2 separate regions of the Homo sapiens genome follow, and region 2 is linked to region 1. The links are contacts of gene promoters, found by promoter capture Hi-C in blood cells and fetal thymus (Javierre and others, 2016). All regions are on one chromosome and are shown on one strand. Each heading gives the region's core, a stretch centred on a gene start or on the middle of the fragment in contact. The rest is flanking DNA. Distances are from core to core; before and after follow the strand shown.

Region 1 (6,097 bases), core at 1,114-3,613:
TACTACTTTTAATGCCTGTTTAGTTATCACTCCTCCCAGACACAAAAACAAGACCAAAGTCTCTACAGTAAAAATAAAAAACCTAAAGCAAACAATAACAATTAAAACAGGATATCAAAATGTAAATGGCTGGTTAAAATAAATTAAATATTTCATCTGCATCTAAATAAAAGTGACCGTTAAACACGTGTGCATGGTAGGCTAGAGGCCCAGGTTGTCCCCTTTCCACTCAAATAGTCCTCTAATCAACAAAACATGGACTACATGGTAGCTCCTTTTCAAAATCCTACAGCCTGAGATAATAAACTGTGTCAAACGCTCTCGCTACTATTTCCTAAAATGCAGTACCCTGCGGGTCAGCCCCCGAGGGCCATCTAGCCTCCATCTTCCAAGACCAATTTTACCTGGTGTCTCCAACAACAAGGGAAAAATTTAGTGTTCCTTGAAAACTTAATGCAGTGAAGTCAGGCACTTCCAAGAGCTGACCCATCAATCCCCCCTTATTCATCACCAAACAGGTATGTAATAATATTGTAGAAGACCTTTACTGAACACTCTGCCAAATAATTAAAGCAATATTTGTGCTCTAGTTCAATTGGCTATCCCTTTTACCGTGGCATTTCACCAACCAGAAAAACTTTTTCTTTTAAAAACTCAAGCAAAACAGCTAAACCAAAACATGTTAAAAAATTTTAAAGAAAAAAAGCTATAAAATCAAAAGGAAGGAATTGCAGAAAGTAAAAAGTTTCCTCTTCAAAGTTTCCATTCTTGTTACAGGATAAATAAGTGTTAGAAATAATAGTTTCTTTTAAAGACTAATTTCTTTCAAGCCTCCTTACTTTGTGCTAATAACTCTTTGTTTAAGCCCTATCCTATGTAGCTGTTAAACATGCTCACAGGCACATAGTACATTCTATGTCCTTGTGCCTTAACGGAAATACCTGTCCTGGATGTGCTCACAGGCATGTCCCAGCTCACAGCCTGTCACTTCCTTATTTAGGAATGTTATTACTTTTCTAAGTCCTTTCATAAACAACTTCCTCTTTTCATTTATCTTTCCATTGCTTTTACCTGTTTAAAAAATTTTAAGTTATTAGCCAATCAGGTTTTAATTTAAATTATGAAGTCTGTCTCCAGCCAATAAAAACAGGACACAAGAGCAGGGACAAGCTACATAAAAAATAAAAATTGCTTCCCTCCCTTGTTCAAATGTGCTCTTGCCATTGTTCCATCTGCAAGGAGCACCCTTTCTGCAGAAAGTAAAATTTCCTTGCTAAAAAAACCTTTTTGTCTAAATGCTAATTTTTCCTTACATGACCGAAAAACAAGCATTCTGTTTCTAAATAAACGTCTTACCTATAACATATACCATTACAAAATTACAAATATCCTTTCGAACATCTGTAAATTTATGTGCTCATGATATTAAAATTTATATTTTTATCTGAAAATAGTTATAATTCAGTGAGACACAAGAACAAAATTATGAGAGAGTTATCTACATCATTGAGAAAATCCTCCTGCCACTACCAACGTAAGTCGTGATCACTCACTTTTACTAAAGCTGAGAAACATCCATTTGCCCAGCGGAGTCCTGGAGTGAGTCTGTGTGTGTGGATGGTGGTCCCTGAGACTTGGTTATAAAGAAGGGATACTGTCAGCTCGTCTCCCTCCAGGCCCATAACTGTCATGTCACCTGTAGAAGCAGGACAGCCCTGGCCTCGAGATTATTGGAAAGGGGAGCAACAAAAGGAAAAACTGAACACATTTAATTCCTGGAAAAGATCAGTGTAGGACAGATGGGTTTCAAACTTTAACGTGTGCAAGCTTGTTTTCTTAGGTAATTTTGCCCAGGAGGGTTGTCTGGTCTCAGTTATTGCCAATAAAGTAGAAGCAATAACTATAGTTTCAAACTTTGTTTAATTTCTGTGTTGCTTTACCAAACATCCTTGCTAACTGAAGAAATTTCTGGGGGCCTTCACACATGGTCCCCAGTTGTCCCTACGTTTCAATATTACAGGTAGTCTATGTAAAACTTTTTTGGGAATGAAGAAAATGCCCCCTGCACCAGGCTTACATAGCGCTTACAGTGAAGTTGTTTCTACTTACAGGGATGTTTAACTACACAGTCAGCATGAGAGCATGTGGAATAAAATGATTAACACATTCTTAGCAACTGACAACTTTTATTTGCTTCTGAGACACCACCAACCACACCTATGTTATAACTAGTGCTAACTTTAACCTTGATCATGATTGCCACATTTGGAGTTACACTTTCTTAATCAAACATCATCTGATACTGAAGTGGTGACTTCTCATGCACTTAATCTATAGATTTTCCCCCAAGGCACCAGTTCTGAATATGTTTGAGTTCATGCTGGTGTACCTCTCATGTGCCATATCTGAGGCTCTAACAAATAAACTCTCCAGGCCGGGCACGGTGGCTCATGCCTGCAATCCCAGCCCTTTGGGAGGCCAAGGCAGGCGGATCACTTCAGGTCAGGAGTTTGAGACCAGCTGGCCAATACGGTGAAACCCCGTCTCTACTAAAAACACGGAAATTAGCCAGGCATCATGGCAGGCACCTGGAATCCCAGCTATTCAGGAAGCTGAGGCAGAAGAATCACTCAAACCCAGGAGGCAGAGGTTGCAGTGAGCTGAGATCGGGCCACTGCACTCTAGGCTGGGCAACAGAGCGAGATTCTGTCTCAAAAATTAAAATAAAATAAAATACAAAATAAACTTTCCATTCAGCTGCAGTCAGGACCACTTGATCCCCAGACTTCTACTGTCTTCAGTGACAATTCTCCCTGTCATCTTAAACCCAGCTGCCATCACTATGACGTTGGTGCTCAATCCAGTCAGTGTCCTTAGGTCTTGATTTATTTTCCTTCTCTGAAGCTTTTCAATTACTTCTTTATAAATTATTTTGTCTGATGCTCACAGAAAAAGCCTGCCTAATAAGAACCCTATACCCACAAAAACTAGCTATTAAAAATGAAGGTTAAATAAAAACATTTTATGTAAATAAAAACTGATACAATTTGTTGCTAGCCAACTGACCTTATGAAAAAATGGCAAAAGAAGTTTTTCAGGCTGAAAGCAAGTAAATCCAGACAATAATTTGAATGCATAAGAAAGACAAAGCACACACTAGCAAAACTAATTACATAATTATAAGACAGTGTAAGTGAATTTATTTATTTATTTATTTATTTGCACATGAATAAATTCTTTAGTGGCGATTTCTGAGATTTTGGTGCACCCATCTCCCAGGGGCCTAATAACAGCTCCAGAAGGCCTGCCATCACTGGTGCCCTAGCATGAGCTCCAGAGGTCTGGGACTTCCCCTGCCCTGCCCACAGCCTATGCTCATGTGCATCACTAGGAGGACTTGAGAACAGGCCCACCTCACCTGCCTCTCTCCCACCCTTAGTGGTCAAATATTCCACTTGTGGACCTGAGGACAGCATTGTACAGGTGGTAGCCTCTGGCATGAGTCCACCAGGGTCCTAAAAACAGGCCAAGAAAATGTGCAGCCAGCACTCAAGCATGCTGTCTAAAGGTCTAGGAATCTCCCATGCCATCCACCACTGCTGTCATCTGGGTACTCTTGGGGTCCTAAGGATGGGCCCACCCAGACAACCACCAGCATCCACACTCATGTGTCACCTAAGGCTCTAGGGACTGTCTGATTCAGCCCATTGCAGCCACCACAAACACTGTGAGTGCTGCCTGGAAGCCTGAAGTTGCCTCAACCCCACTACTCTCCTCATCCACACGGTACACACTGCTCAGAGGCCTGAGGACTTGCCCCATTTCCTAGCCCACTGCTGTTACTACAGACATCAGAGCAAGCCTCCTGAAGGCCTGAGAATCAACAGGCTTAGGCACACTAACACCAGTGCCCACATACACTACCCAGCAGCCCAAGGACAGACACCCTCAACCCTTTACTGCTGCCACTGTCACCATGGGGGCTGAAGGACTGGCCTATCTGGTGTTCCATTCCTACCAAAACCTCACCACAGCCTCAACTAGCAAACACAGCCTAAGCAAGGTTATACCTCATAATGAAGGAGAAATAAAGACGTTCCCAGACAAGCAAAAACTGAAGAAATTCATCACCACTAGACAAGCCCTGGAAGATTACCTAGACAGAAAATCAATAATGAAACATCAGATTTAAACTGTACTTTAGACCAGGGGTCCCCAACCGTCGGGTCACAGACCAATACCCACCCCTGGCTTGTTAGGAACCAGGAAGCTCAGCAGGAGGTGAGTGGCAGGTGAGCCAGTGAAGCTGAGCTCTACCTCCTGTCAGATCAGCAGCAGCATTAGATTGTCATAGGAGCTCAAACCCTATTGTGAACTGCACATGCCAGTGATCCAGGCTGTATGCTCCTTATGAGAATCTAATGATAAATGTAATGCACTTAAATTATCCTGAAATCATCCCCCTCCCCTAGTCCTAGGAAAAATTGTCTTCCACGAAACCAGTTCCTGGTGCCAAAAAGGTTAGGCACCGTTGCTTTAGACCAAAGGAACCTAACAGACATCTGCAGAACACTTGATCCAATGACTGCAAAACATACATTCTTCTCAGAAGCACATGGAACAGTCTTCAGGATAGACCCTCTGTTAGGCCAGAAAACGAGTCTTAACAAATGTTTAAAAATTGAAATCATATCAAGTATTTTCTCATACTACAGTGAAATAAAGCCAAAAATCAGTAGCAAAAGGAACTTTGAAAACTGTACAAATACATGAAAATTAAATGACATGCTCCAGAACAACCATTGGGTTAATACAGAAATCCAAACAAATATTTAAAAAATGAAGATGAAAACACAATATTTTGGAAACTATGAAATGCAGCAAAAGCAGTGTTGAGGGAAGTTTACAGCAGTAAATACCTACATCAAAAAAGTAGAAATATTTACAGTAAACAACCTAATGATACACCTCAAGAAACCAAAAAAGCAAGAACAAACTAAGCTCAACATAAGCATAAGGAATAATAAAAATCAGTCAAGGTGCAGTGGCTCATGCCTGTAGTCCAGCACTTTGGGAGACTGAGACAGCTGGATCACCTGAGGTCACGAGTTTGAGACCAGCCTGGCCAACGTGGTGAAACCTCTTCTCTACTAAAAAATACAAAAATTAGCCAGGTGTGGTGGAGTACACCTGTAATCCCAACTACTCAGGGGGCTGAGGCAGGAGAATTGCTTGAACCCAGGAGGCAGAGGCTGCAGTGAGCCGAGATGGCACCACTGCAGTCCAACCTGGGCAACAGAGTAAGACTCCGTCTTAAAACAAAACAAAACAAACAAACAAACAAAGAAATAATAAAAATCGGAGAAGTAAGCAAACTAGAAACTTAAAAAAATACAAAGGGCCAATGAAATAAAACTTTTTTTGAAAACATGAAACAACATTCATAAACCACTAGCTAGACAAAAAATAGAGAAAAGACCCAAATAAACAATGTCAGAAATGAAAAAGCAGACATTTCAACTGATACTGCAGAAAGAAGTATGAAAGATAATCAGAGACTCCTAAGAACAATTGCATGATAACAAACTGGAAAAATTAGAGAAAATATCTAAATTCCTGGACACATACAAACTATCACTATTGAATCAGGGAGAAATAGAAGACCCAAACAAACCAATAATGAGAAATGAGATTGATACAGTAATAAAATGTCTCTCTGCAAATAAAAGCTTGGGGCTTGATAACTTGACAGCTGAATTCTACCAAACTTATAAAGAAGAACTAATATCAATTTTTCTCAAAGTATTCAAAAAATAGAAGGGGGGGGAATTCTTTGTAACTCATTCTATGAAGCAAGCATTACCCTGATATGAAAACAATACAAGGATACAATGAAAACAGAAAGCTACAGTTTAATATGATGAATAAAGATGTTAAAATCTTCAACAAAATACTAGCAAACTGAATGCAACAGCACATCAAAAAGATAACATGCCACAATCAAGTAGGATTTATCCCAGGGATGGAAGGATGGATTTCCACACACAAACCCATAAACACAATACATCACATTAACAGAATGAAATACAAAAACCAT
Region 2 (5,513 bases), core at 1,920-4,419, 900 kb before region 1:
TTGGGTGTTTCTACCCAAGGCATTGGTCTAGCTTTTCCTACAATGAACCTATCTTTGGAGGTTCAAGCTCCCCACCTTCCCCCACTGTGGTGACCTGTGGCCACTTGCAGAAGGGATGGTGCCTGACCCACTGCCCTAGCCCCACGCTATGCACCAAACTTGTTCTCCCCGTCCTGGTCCAGGGCTGGGGTCTTTAGAGACTGACAGCCTCTGCCCCAGGCCTGAGTCCTTAGCAAGGGTTGGGTAAGGAGGTTTTAAGGGAGAAGGTCCAGTCCTTAGCCCTTGAAATACAAAGCTCTTCTGACACTGAATTTGGATGCACCTTGTTTTATATAATAAATCGTGTTTCACAGATGTCCCTGTTGCTGTGAAGGGGATGCAGGGCAGGCCTTCTTAGGATAACTTTACTTGTTCCCAAGAGCCGGGTGGTGGCAAGTTTGGGTGGACAGGACCTGGGAGGGGAGTGGGTTTCAGGTGTAACCCTGTCAGATGCTAACAAGGGCCAACAGCTTCTGAATGGGGAGAGTTATTCCAAGGCTACAGGCTTTGAACTCTTGTCCCTGAGTTCAGAGTCTCTATCTCTTCCACTGAGTATTTATTTATTTAGAGACGGAGTCTTGTGTTGCCCAGGCTGGAGTGCAGTGGTGCGATCTCAGCTCACTGTAACCTCCGTCTCCCAAGTTCAAGCAATTCTCCTGCCTCAGCCACCAGAGTAGCTGGGATTACAAGTGTGTGCCGCCACACCCGGCTAATTTTTATATTTTTATTAGAGACGGGGTTTCGCCATGTTGGCCAAGCTGGTCTCAAACTTCTGACCTCAGGTGATCCACCTGTCTGGCCTCCCGAAGTGCTGGGATTACAGGCATGAGCCACCACACCCAGCCCTCCCTGAGTGTTTAGTATAAGCACTCTTTTTTTTTTTTTTTTTTTGAGACCGAGTCTCGCTCTGTCTTGCACTGTCGCCCAGGCTGGAGTACAGTGGCATGATCTCGGCTCACTGCAAGCGCCGCCTCCTGGGTTCACGCCATTCTCCTGCCTCAGCCTCCCAAGTAGCTGGGATTACAGGTGCCCACCACCACGCTCGGCTAATTTTGTTTTTGTATTTTTAGTAGAGATGGGGTTTCACCGTGTTAGCCAGGATGGTCTTGATCTCCTGACCTAGTGATCCCCCTGCCTTGGCCTCCCAAAGTGCTGGGATTACAGGTGTGAGCCATCGCGCCCAGCCGAGACAGTCTCACTCTTTTGCCCAGGCTGGAGTGCAGCTGTGCAATCTTGGCTCACTGCAGCTTTGACCTCCCAGGCTCATGAGCCTCCCACCTCAGCCTCCCAAATAGCTGGCACCACAGGACGTCCCACCAACCCAGCTAATTAATTTTTTTTTTTTTTTGTAGAGAGGAGGGTCTCACTATGTTGTCCAGGCTGGTCTTGAACTCCTGGGCTCAAGTGATCCTCCCACCTTGGCCTCCCAAAGTGCTGAGATTACAAGTGTTAGCCACTGCACCTGGCCTCAAGTTTCTTTCTTGAGCAACTACCACATACTAGGGGACTTTCATAGGTTATCTTATTTAACTCTCACAACACCTTAAGCGTTAAGTCTTTATCATTTTCATTTCAGAGATAAGGAAACAGGCCCAAGAAGGCTGAAGATCTTGCCCAAAACCACACAGCTAGTCCATGAAACTGAACTTGGACTATCTACCCCTCACACGGGAATCTCTCTTTGATTTGAGAAAAGGAACCAGTGCCTTTCAACTGGAACAGAAAGGAATCTGATCTCAACACCTATGCCTCCACGTAAATTATTTTTTTCAGCCTTATTTCCCTCAAAATTGTAGAGTCCTAATCTTCTTCTATCTTGTGGTGTGAGACCTTGGATAAGTCTCCCTTCCACCTTTTCCTATTACTTAAAATGGTGAATTTGCATAAACCAGGCTCTAAGGGTCTTTTCTGCACTGTTCGGATGTGTACAAATTGACATCCAAGTTTAAAGGAAGACTCTGAAACTTAGGTCAATGACTTGCCCAAGGCCATATAGCGAGGGCCTGATGTACACATATCAGGAGCTTGGGGCATCCTCAGCTCAGGAAAAGGGACCTCCTGGGAGTGCCTGCGCCCACACGGGATCAAAACGGTGCCCAGCCTTCAGAAACCTCAGCCCGAGTTCCAGGGGTAGGCCTGGGCCGCTGCTGCCCTTGTGCGGAGGCATCCCGTGAGCATAGGGCGCCATAGCCAAAGAAGCGGGCAGTGGGACCATGACGCCAGGAGGACACACCAGTCCAGTCCCGTTCCTGTAGGACCTCGTTTATTATTACAAGGCCCATTTAAGGGCACTTAGGCCCCACTAGGCTCATCAGAAAACCTTGAGGCGGTCCCTGGATTTAACCACTAATGGTGGGTTTGAGTACGGCAAAGTAGGGCACCTTCTACAGGCCTCACTCTCCCCATCTGGCAAATGGGCATCCTAAGCAGCCAGACACCCAAGGGCAATAACGGGAAGGAAAGGTACCCTGCATTTATGTGCGAGGCGGGGCAAACCGCCTGAGTCACCGCTCACGGTTGTGTTTTTCCACCTCCCGGCCGTCCCTCCCATCCGGGTGAGTCCTCGTGGGTCCTCCCGGAGGCGCCCCCTAGTCCCAGGCTCTGCACGCCCTGGCCCCGCCCCTTGACTCGGCCCCGCCCACAGCGGAATCCGCAGATTCGCCAGGTCGGATCCTCAGAATTCCTCGGGTCCCTCGATACTCGGCTGAAAATTCTCATCGGACTCTGAGAGGAGCGCTGGGCTGGAGGCATTTTCCCCAGGGACAGAAGCGGGCTATTCTCTCACTTGGGCCAGTAAGAAAAATCCAAAAAAAGTTGTCGACTCTGCCAGCAGGGATTGGCTAACGGGCCGTTATTTTCTTGACTCCACCAAGGCGGATGAAGGGGAGGCTACGGCTGAGGCCGGGAACAGTGGCGAATCTGCAGCCTCTCAGAATTTGGCAGTGCAAGGAAGGGACGGGGAAGAGAAGCAAAGCGGCGCGCATCCTGTCCAGCGATTCGCCCCGCCCGCCCGGTGAATCTGCGTCTGCAGAACGCGCCACTGAAGGTTCCCCAGCGCTGGCTGGCCTCCTCCCCTCCGCCCCGCCCCTTTTCCTCAGGGACTAGTCGCAGCTTTCGTCGCCGCCGATTCGTCAAGGTCCCGGGCCGCAGCATCTAGATCGTCGTGGCGAAGCCGACTCTCCGGGGGATGCGGCCAATCTCCAAGCTCCCTGGGCCGCAACTTCCGAGCCTCCCAGGGCGCCGGCCGAGGCGAAGCCGCTACCCTCGGCCCCGTGGGTCCCCCGGCAGCGCCTGTGGCGAAAGTGCGAATGCAGACCCTGTGCCCGCTGGGCCTCGCGCAGGTGGCAGTGGTGTTTGGTGCGCGCGCCGGGGAGGTGGTGGTGGGGGGGCGCCGCCGCCGCCACCGCTGCGGGGCCGGGTCTCGCGCTGCCGCTGCCGCCGCCTCGCGCCGCTGAGGTGCCGCGCGAGGTGGGGGGAGGGGGAGCCGCTCGCCGGGAGCGGGTGAGTGGGGCCGCGCGGCGCGCGTGCGCGGAGACCTGCTGGGGGGGGTGCAGAACGCGCCGGGGCGGGAGGAGAGGGCAGCGGTGCACGTTCCCCCCACCCCCCCGCCCGGATTCGGGGTCGAAGCCGGGTCTCGGGCTCGGTCTCGCGGTGTTTCCAACGCCCCGAAGAGGTGCCACCTTTCGGCCGGAGGATCGGGGCGCGGGGAGGAGAGCGGGTGTGTGGGAGCCGTGGCCGGGCTCGGCCCGGGCCGCTGGCCGGTGAGGAGGCGGGAGGGGGCGGGGCCTGCAGGGGGCGGGGGAGGGGTCTTGCTCCGAGGCCAAGTGGGGCGCGCGCTAGGGAGAGCGGGAAGGTAAGGGGGCTCGAGACGGGCCTGGGGGCCTGACAGTAGAGTTGGGAGGTGGAAAGAGGCTGGGTTGTTGTGGCGAAACAGAGGGTACTTGGGGGAGAATCCGGGGGAGCCCCGGGTCAGGGTGAGGGTTGGAAACTGGAGTGATGGGAGAACCTGGAATCGGGGCTAGCCAATGAGGAAAGGCAGGGGAGTCAGGCCCCAAGTCCTGATCCTTCTTGCGTGTCCCTCTTCCCCTAACAGTGTAAATGAGCAAAGATGGATCAGGAAGGTGGGGGAGATGGGCAGAAGGCCCCGAGCTTCCAGTGGCGGAACTACAAGCTCATCGTGGATCCTGCCTTGGACCCTGCCCTGCGCAGGCCTTCTCAGAAGGTGTACCGCTATGATGGAGTCCACTTCAGTGTCAACGTGAGTGCCCGGGTCTTTGGTTGCCATCCGGGGAGCTCCAGGCGCCCGTCCTCTGTGATTCTGTTCAGCACCTAGAACGGTAGCCTGCCTTCTTGAAAGTGGGCAGTTGGACCCAGCTCTTCTGCATGTGTGTGTCCAGATGGGCTGCTTGGAGCTCCCTAGCCTGGATTCACCCTGAGCTCTCTTTCTGCTGCTGCTTTCCTTCCTAGGACTCAAAGTATATACCAGTCGAAGACCTCCAAGACCCCCGTTGCCATGTCAGGTCCAAAAACAGAGACTTTTCCCTCCCAGTCCCTAAGTTTAAGGTAAGTGTCTGCTGGGCTCCTGGTGTGGTAGTCCTAAGAGGGTGTGGAGGATGCGTCTTGGCACTATAGCTGAATAAAAGGGTTTCCAATGAAAGGATCTCAGCCAGATCTAGCAACCTCTGAGGCTGTGAGACTCAGTTGTTTTGGATAGGAGGTACACTTAATCTTCCAGAAAGGTGCAGGTCAGGTGTCCTAAGTGTATCCCTGGTGGCTGGGGTGTCGACTTCTTGAAGGGTGAGGTAAAGACTCTTTAGCTGCTATACCTATCACTGTATATTCGTAGACAGTGCATCATAGCACACAAGAGTGGGATCTCCCAGTTCCTTGACAGTCAAGGGGAGTGACAAGGCCACTGCCTACCTGGGTAGCACTATTCCCCGCCTCTCATTTGGCGATGTCATTTCCCTCTTGTTTCCTTCGAGGACTCCTATTCTCCACCCTAGACAAGATATTCTTCAGGCCTTGAACTGGGCCTGGAACACTGGTGGTTCTTCATTTCCTTCTCTGATTCTTTATTCTTCCTTTCTAAATAAATTGTTTGTGGGGTCCCTTCATTCTTCTTCTTCTTTTTTTTTTTTTTACTTTGTACACTTCACTTGGACAATCTCTTTCACACCCACAGCTTCAACTATTACCTAAATGTTGATGACTTCCAAGTATCTGTTTCCAGCCAACATCTCTAGGCTTGTATGCCTGGTAGGGGGACAGTTTCATTTGGAGGCCACACATGTTTCAGATTTAAGGGATTTAAAACAAATTATCTACCTCCTTAACCTACCTTTTTCATTTTCCCTCTACTCATATGTGGCAGTACCATCGACTCAGCTGTACAGCCTGGCAGCCTGTGATTCTCTCCTTTTCTCTCTCAGTTGGTCACCGAATCCTCCTGGCTCTTTTCTTTTTTATTCTTC

The links. Contacts are between HindIII fragments. The CHiCAGO score rates a contact against its expected background, and 5 or more counts as called.
Region 2: the fragment with the promoter of SETD1A here is called in contact with a fragment that was not itself captured in region 1 in 1 of 17 cell types (activated CD4 T cells); the score reaches 5.3 in activated CD4 T cells.

Annotation. Positions count from the first base shown.
Region 1 is chr16:31,851,296-31,857,392 of GRCh38, forward strand. No RefSeq gene overlaps it. Among named protein-coding and RNA genes, the nearest start is that of ZNF267, 19 kb to the right of the region's middle. The HindIII fragment of the contact is 1,077 bases long and covers 1,826-2,902 here.
Region 2 is chr16:30,954,585-30,960,097 of GRCh38, forward strand. SETD1A (SET domain containing 1A, histone lysine methyltransferase) reads left to right here and starts at 3,170. Exons shown (of 19, transcript NM_014712.3): 1 at 3,170-3,380; 2 at 4,133-4,297; 3 at 4,507-4,602. The coding sequence starts at 4,148. It overlaps ORAI3 (ORAI calcium release-activated calcium modulator 3), which reads left to right. Exons shown (of 2, transcript NM_152288.3): 2 at 1-354. RefSeq lists enhancers at 2,478-3,241, 2,699-2,828 and silencers at 3,429-3,648, 3,789-3,878. The HindIII fragment of the contact is 14,721 bases long and covers 1-5,513 here.